Regions from separate parts of the Homo sapiens genome. Here region 2 is linked to region 1. The links are contacts of gene promoters, found by promoter capture Hi-C in human tissues and cell types (Jung and others, 2019). All regions are on one chromosome and are shown on one strand. The core of a region is centred on a gene start or on the middle of the fragment in contact, and the rest is flanking DNA. Distances in the headings are between cores, read along the strand shown.

Region 1 (5,156 bases), core at 1,984-4,483:
TTCACAGGTTCAAGTAGGCCATCAACCAGCTGGGTCCACTGAGCCCTAGGGTGGGCAGGGGCCCCCCAACATATCTAAACAAGTGAACAGATCTTTGCACATATTTGCACCCCTCAAAAATGCCACAATAGGCCGAGCGTGGTGGCTCACACCTGTAATCCCAGAACTTTGGGAGGCCGAGGCAGGCACATCACCTGAGGTCAGGAGTTTGAGACCAGCCTGGCCAACATGGTGAAACCCCATTTCTACTATGAATACAAAAATTAGCCAGGCATTACGGTAGTTCCTGCAGTCCCAGCTACTCAGGAGGCTGAGGCAGGAGAATCTCTTGTACCTGGGAGTTGGAGTTTGCAGTGAGCCCGGATTGCGCCACTGCACTCCAGCCTGGGTGACAGCGAGAGACCATCTCCCCAACCAAAAAGAAAAAAAGAGATCGGGCTGGGTGCAGTGGATCACACAGTGGGTCACGCAGTGGGTCACGCCTATAATCCCATACTTTAGGAGGCCCAGGTGGAATGATTGGCCAGGCTTACCTCGTGATCCACTCGCCTCGGCCTCCCAAAGTGCTGGGATTACAGGCTTGAGCAGCCACGTCTGGCCCCTAAAACAGTTTTTTAAAATTAGCCAGGTGTGCTTGCACACATAGTCTTGGCTACTCGGGGAGGCTGAGGCAGGAGGGTCACATAAGCCCAGGAGTTTGAGGCTTCAGCAAGCTATGATGGCGCCACTGCATTCCAGTCTGGATGACAGAGCAAGAAGACAGAATGCTTGAACTGGGAAGTGGAGTTTGCAGTCTGCTAAGATACAGCCACCGCACTCCAGCCTGGGCGACAGAGTGAGACTCTGTCTCAAGAAAAAAAAAATGCCACAATAAGGAATTGTCCCCTTTATGGCAGGCCTTTTACAGGGCGGTGAAGATGCAGCAGTTCCCAAAATATACCCAGTCCCTTCCCCCGCAGAGCCCACAGGCCAGTGGGAGGAGACAGATGTGAGACACATAATCATGCCAATAAATATATAATGACAACCCAGGCAAAGTGTTGCCAAGGAAAGGGACAGCATGTTGGGAGTGAACAATATGAGGACCTAGATTGGGCTGGGGGGGCCAGGCAGTGATGCGATGGAGAAGGGATGATAGAGTTGGGGACAAAGTGCTGCAGGAGGTTGCTCCAAGTCCTCTGAGGGGGCTCTTTGGGTGAGAAAGCGAGAGAAGCCTGGGGAGGCGAGGGGAGGGTCACAGAAACATAAGGAGTTTAGGGTTCTGCTGAAAGGTTTGGGGCAGAGGTGGGAAAGGGTTTGGTTTGAGATTGGGAAGAAGCCTTCTGACTGTTGAGTGGGAGACAGGTTGGAAGGAGCAACAGAAGCCAGCAGCCCATGGCCGGGCACAGTGACCCACGCCTGTAATCCCAGCCCTTTGGGAGGCCGAGGCGGGCAGATCACGAGTTCAGGAGTTCCAGACCAGCCTGGCCAACATGGTGAAACCCCGTCTCTACCAAAAATACAAAAATTAACCTGGCATGGTGGTGCACACCTGTAATCCCAGCAACTCAGGAAGCTGAGGTGGGAGGATCACTTGAACCCAGGAGATGGAGGTTGCAGTGAGCCGAGATCGAGCCATTGCACTCCAGCCTGGGCAACAAAGCAAGACTGGGTCTCAAAAAAAAAAAAAAAAAAAAAGACACAGCCCAGGGAGACAACGGTGAAGGGCCCTAAGTGGCCAGTGACAAGGAGCTGGGAGCTTGCCCTGAGGGCAGCAGGAGGCCATGGGCAAGCAGAGAAGGGACAGGGTAGGATTTGACTTTCAGAAACAGTCCTCTGGTTGCTAAATGGGAGAAAGGAGTGACAGTAGAGGCAGGAGAAGGCAGGATCAGACGGGGGTGCTGGGAAGGGGCAGGTAGAAGAGACATCAGGAGGCCAAACAGATAGGACTTTATGATGCACCGTAGGTATACCAGTACCCAAACACAGGTGGCCAAGAGCAGAGGGATAGACGCCCAGCCTCCTCCTCACAGACATCCAGGCATGCAGAGCCCTCCACGTGCCAAACACACAGGGCCGAGGAATGGAAGTGCAGCAGAGCCGATACGCAGGCAGCAGATCTGCAATAACCAGGACACACAGTCCCACCAGAAGGAGAGAGCAGTGGAATGATCAGGGCTCACTGCAGCCTCGATCTCTTGGACTCAAGCGTTCCTCTCACTCCAGCCTCCCTAGTAGCTGGGACCACAGGCACACGCCATGATACCTGGTTAAGTTTTAATTTTTAAACTTCTTGTAGAGATGGGGGTCTCAGTGCATTGACCAGTCTGGTCTCGAACTCCTGGGCTCAAGCGATCCTCCCACCTTGGCCTCCCAAAGTGCTGGGATTACAGGAGTGAGTTACTGTGCCCGGCCAACAACTATTCTTATTCCCATTTTACAGATGGACAAACTGAGGCTCAGGAGGCCAGTCACTTGCCTGTAGCCCACAGTTAGTGGTAGCACTGGGATTCCAACTTGGGTCCCCTTCATGTCGCCTGTATTTGGTGTCCCATTTAGGCGTCCATGCAGGTTTTGGCGTGTCTGAAGATCTGTGTCTCCCCAAGTAAGTGTCCCCCATGGATGCCCACCCAGCCGTGTCCTCCTGTCTCTGAGGTTTCTCCAGGAATCGAGCTCCTGGCCTGGCTTGTCTGAGTGTGTCTGTGGGCCAGTAGCATGCCCCTGCCCGTCTGGGTCCCTCTGCGTGTCTCTGCTTGTCCTAGCCTGTGTGTGTCAGTGACGTCTAAGAGTGTGTGTGCGTGCGTGCGTGCGTGCGTGTGTGTGTGTGTGTGTGTGTCCTTGTCCGAGGAGCCGAGAGAGTGAGGGGGAATGAAGGGCCAAGGAGGCCTGGCTGGGGCTGGGCTGGGGGTGGAGGCGGGGAGAGGGGCGTCACGGCCTGAGCTGAGAGGGGAGTGGAGTTCTGGAGGAATGTTTACCAGACACAGAGCCCAGAGGGACAGCGCCCAGAGCCCGGATAGAGAGACACGGCCTCACTGGCTCAGGACAGGGGGCACAGCCACCAGGGTCCCCTTCCCCCTCCTCAGCTCCCTCCCTGGCCCCTTTAAGAAAGAGCTGATCCTCTCCTCTCTTGAGTTAACCCCTGATTGTCCAGGTGGCCCCTGGGCTCTGGCCCTGGTGGGCGGAGGCAAAGGGGGAGCCAGGGGCGGAGAAAGGGTTGCCCAAGTCTGGGAGTGAGGGAAGGAGGCAGGGGTGCTGAGAAGGCGGCTGCTGGGCAGAGCCGGTGGCAAGGGCCTCCCCTGCCGCTGTGCCAGGCAGGCAGTGCCAAATCCGGGGAGCCTGGAGCTGGGGGGAGGGCCGGGGACAGCCCGGCCCTGCCCCCTCCCCCGCTGGGAGCCCAACAACTTCTGAGGAAAGTTTGGCACCCATGGCGTGGCGGTGCCCCAGGATGGGCAGGGTCCCGCTGGCCTGGTGCTTGGCGCTGTGCGGCTGGGCGTGCATGGCCCCCAGGGGTGAGTGATGGGGGCTCCTTGGGGCAGGGATCCCCTCGGAGGGGCTGGGGCAGGGGTAGGAGGTGGGGGATGATGGCAGGTGTGGGGGGCCTGGGCTGGCTTAGGGAGTTTCCTTGGGACCACAGAAAAGGGACTTCAAGGGAGGGAGACACAGACTCAGAGACACCAAGTGCGGCAGAGGGAGAGAAAGACTGAGAGAGGAACTGAAGGGCAGGGGGGACAGAAGAGAGGACCCGGAGAGACAGACAGACAAGGAGAAGCTGAGGGCAGGGGTGGGGGCTGGACCTGAGAAGGGGGCCATGGGGAGAGGGGCTGAGCTGAGGGTCGCCAGGAAGGAAGAAATCTTTCCGAAGGGGCACCGAGTCAGGCAGTGGGATGAGGAGGGCTCTGGAGCCCTGGGGGAAAACGCTTCTCCCTGCCAACACCACCCCCCTGACCCGCCACTTGTCCCTACCCCACCAGTCCACTCCATCTCTGGGGAGGAGGCTCTCACTTTGTCTCTCTGTCTCTGCCTCCAGCTCTGCTATCTCTGTGGGTCTCTGTTTCTCTCTCTTTCACAGTCTCTGCCTTTATCTCTCCCTGCTCTCTGAGTCTCTCTCTCTCTTCTCAGCCTCCCTCTGTGACTGTATCCCCCCTCCGCCCCCACCTTTTCTTCTCTCTTGAGGGCTGTTTCTTCATTTTTTCTGTCTTGCCTTGTATCTGTGCTCCTCTCTGTCTCATCTCCCCTGCCTTTCTCTGGCTTCTCCCTCCGCCACCACCCTTATCTCCCCCCACCACCACCCTTATCTCTCTCCCCCAACCCCTGATTCTTCCCCTCCATCCACCAGCACCAGCGCGACCTGTTAAGTCTCTAGAGACCTAAGAGAGGACGGAGGGGGCAGGGGCTGGCCCTGCCAGGCAGTGCAGGGCGTGGGAGGCTGCCAGATCCCGAGCCTCCTTCCCGACGGGATGGACGCTAGATCCCAGTCCCTTGGGAGGGCTCCCGTCCTCCTCTCAGAGCCTCCGCCCTCCACCCCACTCTGAGGTCACTCTGCAACTATGTCGGCCTAAGGGCCTGGCGGGGTCCTGGCCGCCGGTGGGCAGGCAAGGACAGGGTGGAACTGAGGGCCGGAAGGAGCTGGGGGGTTCCTAAGCTAACTCTTCCCATCTCCCCTCCAGGCACGCAGGCTGAAGAAAGTCCCTTCGTGGGCAACCCAGGGAATATCACAGGTGCCCGGGGACTCACGGGCACCCTTCGGTGTCAGCTCCAGGTTCAGGGAGAGCCCCCCGAGGTACATTGGCTTCGGGATGGACAGATCCTGGAGCTCGCGGACAGCACCCAGACCCAGGTGCCCCTGGGTGAGGATGAACAGGATGACTGGATAGTGGTCAGCCAGCTCAGGTGTGTGGCCACATCCCCGAATCCCACTCCCACCTCCGTCACACAGAGGGCAGAAAGCCCACCTGGGTGGGAACCCCAGTTTGACCACTTGTCAGCCGTGCGGCTTTGAGCATGTGATGGAACCTCTAGGTTTCGTTTTCCTCTTCTGCAAAATGAGTTAATAATAGGACATACTTCGTGGTTGTCATGAGCTTCCAGACTGGACACCCTCTTTCCGTTCTGACAGACCCCCTCCCAGTGTCCAGCTCTGACCCTGAACCTCTCTGTCTCTCCTCTTGCCCTGTCAG
Region 2 (5,156 bases), core at 1,951-4,450, 46 kb before region 1:
CTCGGCCTCCCAAGGTGCTGGGATTACAGGCATGAGCCACCGCGACCGGCCGAAAATTTTTCAATAAAAATAAACTTAAAGAATACCAGCGCTTCCGCCACGGCTGCCATTGGAGAGCAGCAGCCATGGCTCTGCGCGACCCTGTGGCCGTGGGCCCCAAGGTGACCAAGGACGTGAGCAAGCCCAGGCACAGCTGCCGCCCCGGACGTCTGACCAAACACACCAGGTTTGTGCGGGACATGATCCGGGAGGTGTGTAGCTTCGTCTCGTACAAGCGGCTCGCCATGGAGTTGCTGAAGGTCCCCAAGGACAAACGGTCCCTCAAGTTCATCAAGAAAAGGATGGGGACGCACATCCGCACCAAGAGGAAGCGGAAGGAGCTGAGCAAGGTGCTGGCCACCATGAGGAAAGCTGCTGCCTAGAAAGACTGAGCCCCCTCCCCTGCCCTCTCCCTGAAATAAAGAACAGCTTGACAGGAAGAAAAAAGAAAAAAAAACCAGCAACAATTTTATGTCAAAAGTTTGAAGATTAGTGAACACATTCCTTAGAAAAATAGGCCAGGTGCGGTGGCTCACTCCTGTAATCCCTGCACTTTGGGAGGCCGAGGTGGGCGGATCACCTAAGGTCAGGAGTTCAAGACCAACCTGGCCAACACGGCAAAACCCCATCTCTACTAAAAATACAAAAAATTAGCCGGGCGTGTTGGCAGGCGCCTGTAATCCCAGCTACTTGGAAGGCTGAGACAGGAGAATCGCTTGAACCCAGGAGGTAGACATTGCAGTGAGCCGAGATTGCACCACTGCACTCCAGCCTGGGCAACAGAGCGAGACTCCACCTCAAAAAAAAGAAAGAAAAATAAATACAACTTGCCAAAATGGACACAAGGAGAAACAATAAATATGAATAATGCTAAAATGATTAAAGAAATCAAGTCTAAAATTAAGTATCTTCCCTCCAATGTTTATGATAACCCACTAGTGAAATTTACCAAATATCTAAGGAAGAAATAATGCCAATCTCACATAAACTCTTTTATGGTATAGAAAAAGCACAGTTTTATAAGGCAGGCAGAAACTTAATTGCCAAAACCTGCCTAAGACAATATAAGAAACGAAAATTACAGGCCAGTCTCACTACCAAACTTGGATGTAAAAATCATACATAAAATAGCAGCCAGGCACAGTGGCTCATGCCTGTAATCCCAGCACTTGAGGAGGCCAAGGTGGGTGGATCACTTGGGGTCAGGAGTTCAAGACCAGCTTAGCCAACATGGTGAAACCCCATCTCTACTAAAAATACAAAAATTATCCAGGCATGCTGGCAGGTGCCTGTAATGCAAGCTACCTGGGAGGCTAGGGCATGAGAATCGCTTGAACCCAGGAAGCAGAGGTTGCACTGAGCCGAAATCACGCCACTGCACTCCAGCCTGGGTGACAGAGCAAGACTCCGAAAAAACAAAAACTAAATAAGAGGACTTACTCTACCTGATATCAAACTTACTAGGGAGCTATGGTAATTAGGACAGTGTAGAATTACCCAAACATGAACAGAGACCAATGGAAGAGATTAGTCAGCCCAAAATAAGAACCCACTTCTGGTTGATGCCAAGGATGGTATTACAGAACCATGAGGAAAGGGTGGTCTTTTCCATAATGAGACTGAGACATTGAATACCTTTACGGGGAAAAAGGAAATTCGAAACCTACCTGACATCACATCAAATATTAATTCCAGATGGATCATATATCTCAATGTGAAAAGCTAAACAATAAAAGCTTTAACAGATAATCTAGAAGGGTATCTTTATGCCCCCAAGAGAGAAAAAGTGTTCTTAAAAATGACACAAAAAAGCACAAACATTACTGAAAAGATTGATAAATTGGACTACATTCAAATGTAGTTCATCAAAGACACCAGGAAGGGCTGGGCGCAGTGGCTCACGCCTGTAATCCCAGAACTTTGAGAGGCTAAGGCGGCAGATCCCTGAGATGGGGAGTTTGGCAGATCCCTGAGATGGGGAGTTTGAGACCAGCCTGACCAACATGGAGAAACCCCATCTCTATTAAAAATACAAAATTGGCTGGGTGTGGTGTCACATGCCTGTAATCCCAGCTACTCAGAGGCTGAAGCAGGAGAATCCCTTTAACCTGGGAGCCAGAGGTTGCGGTGAGCCGAGATCGCGCCATTGCACTCCAGCCTGGGCAACAAGAGCGAAACTCCAATTCAAAAAAAAAAAAAAAGGCACCAGGAAAAGAGTAAAACAGGGCCGGGCACGGAGGCCCACGCCTTTAATCCCAGCACTTTGGGAGGCCAAGGCGGGCGGATCACTTGTGTCCAGGAGTTCCAGACCAGCCTGGTCAACATGGTGAAACCCCGTCTCTACAAAAAATACAAAAATTAGCCCAGTCTGGTGGCATGCGCCTGTAGTCCCAGCTACTTGGGAGGCTAAAGTGAGAGGATCACTGGAGCTTGGGAGGTTGAGGTTGCAGGGAGCTGAGATCGTGCCACTGCACTCCAGCCTGGGCAAGAGAGTGAGACCTTGTCTCAAAAAAAAAAAAAAAGAAAGAAAGAAAATTGTAGGTGAAGGTAGAAGTATCTCCAGTGATCTTCAAGACTGGCACAATATTCTAAAAAGATACATTTGAACATAAAAATAAATGTTAACCAGACATCGTTTTTAGAATTATACAATACAAATTCTGGTGGGGAGTTGGCTGAGAGCCCCTCCTCCAGCTTCCTGGTGGTGGCGGTGTTCCACCTCCTGGGTCCCCACCCTCAGTCTCCCTTGCTCTGCCTTCTCCCCCACCCCACCTCCACATGCTAGAAACCAGGTCCTCTTCTCACCCTCTCTCCCAGGTGAGCCTGGTCACTCACAGAGCTGCAGAATCTGCTGTCTGTCTGCCAAGGACTCCCAACTCTGTGTCCACAGCAAGGATCTGTGCTAAACCACACTGGCCTTGCTGGGCCTCCAGCGCCATACACTCCCTCTTATGGCTTGTAACAGGTGTTTCCCCACCTGGAATGTTTGCTCTCCTCTCTCCTCCAAAGTCCTGCCCCTCCCTGAGGTGAGAAATCAGTTCCCCCACCTCCCCCACAGCCCCAGCACTCTGTGCTGAAATCATCATCAAAAACCCTGGTCTCCTCCAATCCCTCCTGCTACCCTCTCAGCCACCCAACATGCTATTCCCCCTGCAGGAACACTCTTCCCCATGATCTTTCTCGAGTCATTCTTCAGATCCATGTATCCCCTCCTCCAGGAAGCCCTCCCTGATACTCACCACTCTCCGGCCAGGGCAGGCACTTACTCTGGGCTCCCACAGGCCCCCTGGCCTCCCCCATCCCAGCCCCGACCACTCTGGGCAGTCAAGGTCTGGTGACTAACCTGCCTCCTCAACTGGACTGTGGGCCCCATGGGGGTAGGGCTGTCTCTGTCTCTACTGCCTCCCCAGCATCACCCAGTCAGGCCTGGATGCAGGCCTGGCATCAACTCTGCATAAAGGAGCGGAGGTCAGGAGTTCCCTGGGGCCTCAGTGCCTGGCACTGGTGGAGGGGCTTTCTGCATGCCACACTCTGGATCTTCTCCAGCTACTCCTTATTCTGGAAGCTGCAGCATGTTGAAATAAAAACTGGAACTAAATGGAGATGGAATGGACTTCACATTTGGACACATGGGTGTGTAAAGAGGAACGTGACTTCTCCAAAGTAACGCATAGAGGCCGGGCGCAGTGGCTCACGCATGTAATCCCAGCACTTTGGGAGGCCGAGGCAGGCAGATCATTTGAGGTCAGGAGTTCGAGACCAGCCTGGCCAACATGGTGAAACGCCATCTCCACTATAAATACACAAATTAGCTGGGCATAGTGGCACATGCCTGTAATCCCAGCTACTCCGGAGGCTGAGGCTGAAGAATCACTTGAACCCAGGAAGCAGAGGTTGCATTGAACCAAAATCGCACCACTGCACTCCAACCTGGGTGACAGAGCGAGACTCCGTCTCAAAAAAAAAAAAAAAAAAAAGTAACACACTAACCTCCTGACCCACCCAGAGTGGGTCTTACCTTCTAGAAAGATAGAAAAGAATAGAACCAGGCCAGGCTGACTCTGGCAGCTTTAGAACAATAGTAATGGCAGGAGTGGCCGGCGATGGACAGCTGGGGGTGGGACTGAAATAGACAGCAGCCAGGGAATAGTGGGTTGAAGGGAGAAAGGGAGTTATTTTTCTGTAGTCTTTGAAATTTTATTTTTCTCTTTCCTTTTTTGGAGACAAGGTCCTGCTCTTTTGCCCAGGCTGGAGGGCCATGGCGCGATCATGGCTCACTGCAGCCTCGAACTTGAGCGATCCTCCCTCCTCAGCCTCCCAAGTAGGTGGAACTTCAGGCGTCTGCCACCACACCCAGCTAATTTTTAAATTTTTTAAATTTTTTCTAGAGATGGGGGCCTTGCTATGTTGCCCAGGCTGGTCTCGAACTCCTGAGCTCCAGCGATCCTCCCACCTTGGCCTCCGAAAGGCCTGAGCCACCGTACCCGGCTGAAATTTGTAATCAACCCATAATCATCTATTACTTATGTAACTGAATTCCTATGAAAAGCATAATAAAGTGGAGATCATAAAGGTGCCGACTTCGGGCTGTTGTAAGATTTCGGTGCCACACCTAGCACAGAAAAAGCATGGAGAGCAGAAGGGCAGTGAACGCCAGCTGGCACACGTTGGCTACGTGCAAGTATTCGCCTAAACGCTGCGCAGGTATTCATCATATGATCCCCATAAACCTCTGAGGGCTGCACTCACATGTCATCCCCGATCTGCTGATGAGAAGTTCAGTTATAGGCCCAAGGTCACATATCCCGAGCCAGCGTAAAAGTGGAATCCAGGGAGGAGGAGGAGGAGGAGGAGCAGGAGGAGGAGGAGGAGGAGGAGGAGGAGGAGGAGAAGAAGAAGAAGAAGAAGAAGAAGAAGAAGAAGAAGAAGAAGAGAAAGGATTACTGTCCGTCTCTCTCTGGTTCTCTGCACACCCCTCACCTCCAGGGTTTTCAGTCTGTCTCTGGACCATTCTCCTTCTCTCCCCCTGCCCCATTCTCCAAAAGCCCAATGGGGTGACTTGCAGGCTGGGGGCACCCCCTGGTGCCTGTGTGCCGAGTGCAGAAAGTCAGGGCGGT

Evidence for each region. The method cuts DNA at HindIII sites, captures the fragments that hold promoters and counts their contacts. A contact is called where the count stands out against the background at its distance.
Region 2: a fragment that was not itself captured here is called in contact with the fragment with the promoter of AXL in region 1 in 2 of the 25 tissues and cell types used here (heart right ventricle and thymus).

Annotation. Positions count from the first base shown.
Region 1 is chr19:41,215,990-41,221,145 of GRCh38, forward strand. It overlaps AXL (AXL receptor tyrosine kinase), which reads left to right and starts at 3,234. Exons shown (of 20, transcript NM_021913.5): 1 at 3,234-3,488; 2 at 4,647-4,869. The coding sequence starts at 3,404. RefSeq lists an enhancer at 2,375-3,199 and a silencer at 2,808-2,947. The HindIII fragment of the contact is 32,353 bases long and covers 1-5,156 here.
Region 2 is chr19:41,169,736-41,174,891 of GRCh38, forward strand. The region is part of intron 2 of LOC124904790; the gene reads right to left. It also overlaps the pseudogene RPL36P16. Among named protein-coding and RNA genes, the nearest start is that of CYP2S1, 21 kb to the right of the region's middle. The HindIII fragment of the contact is 4,900 bases long and covers 751-5,156 here.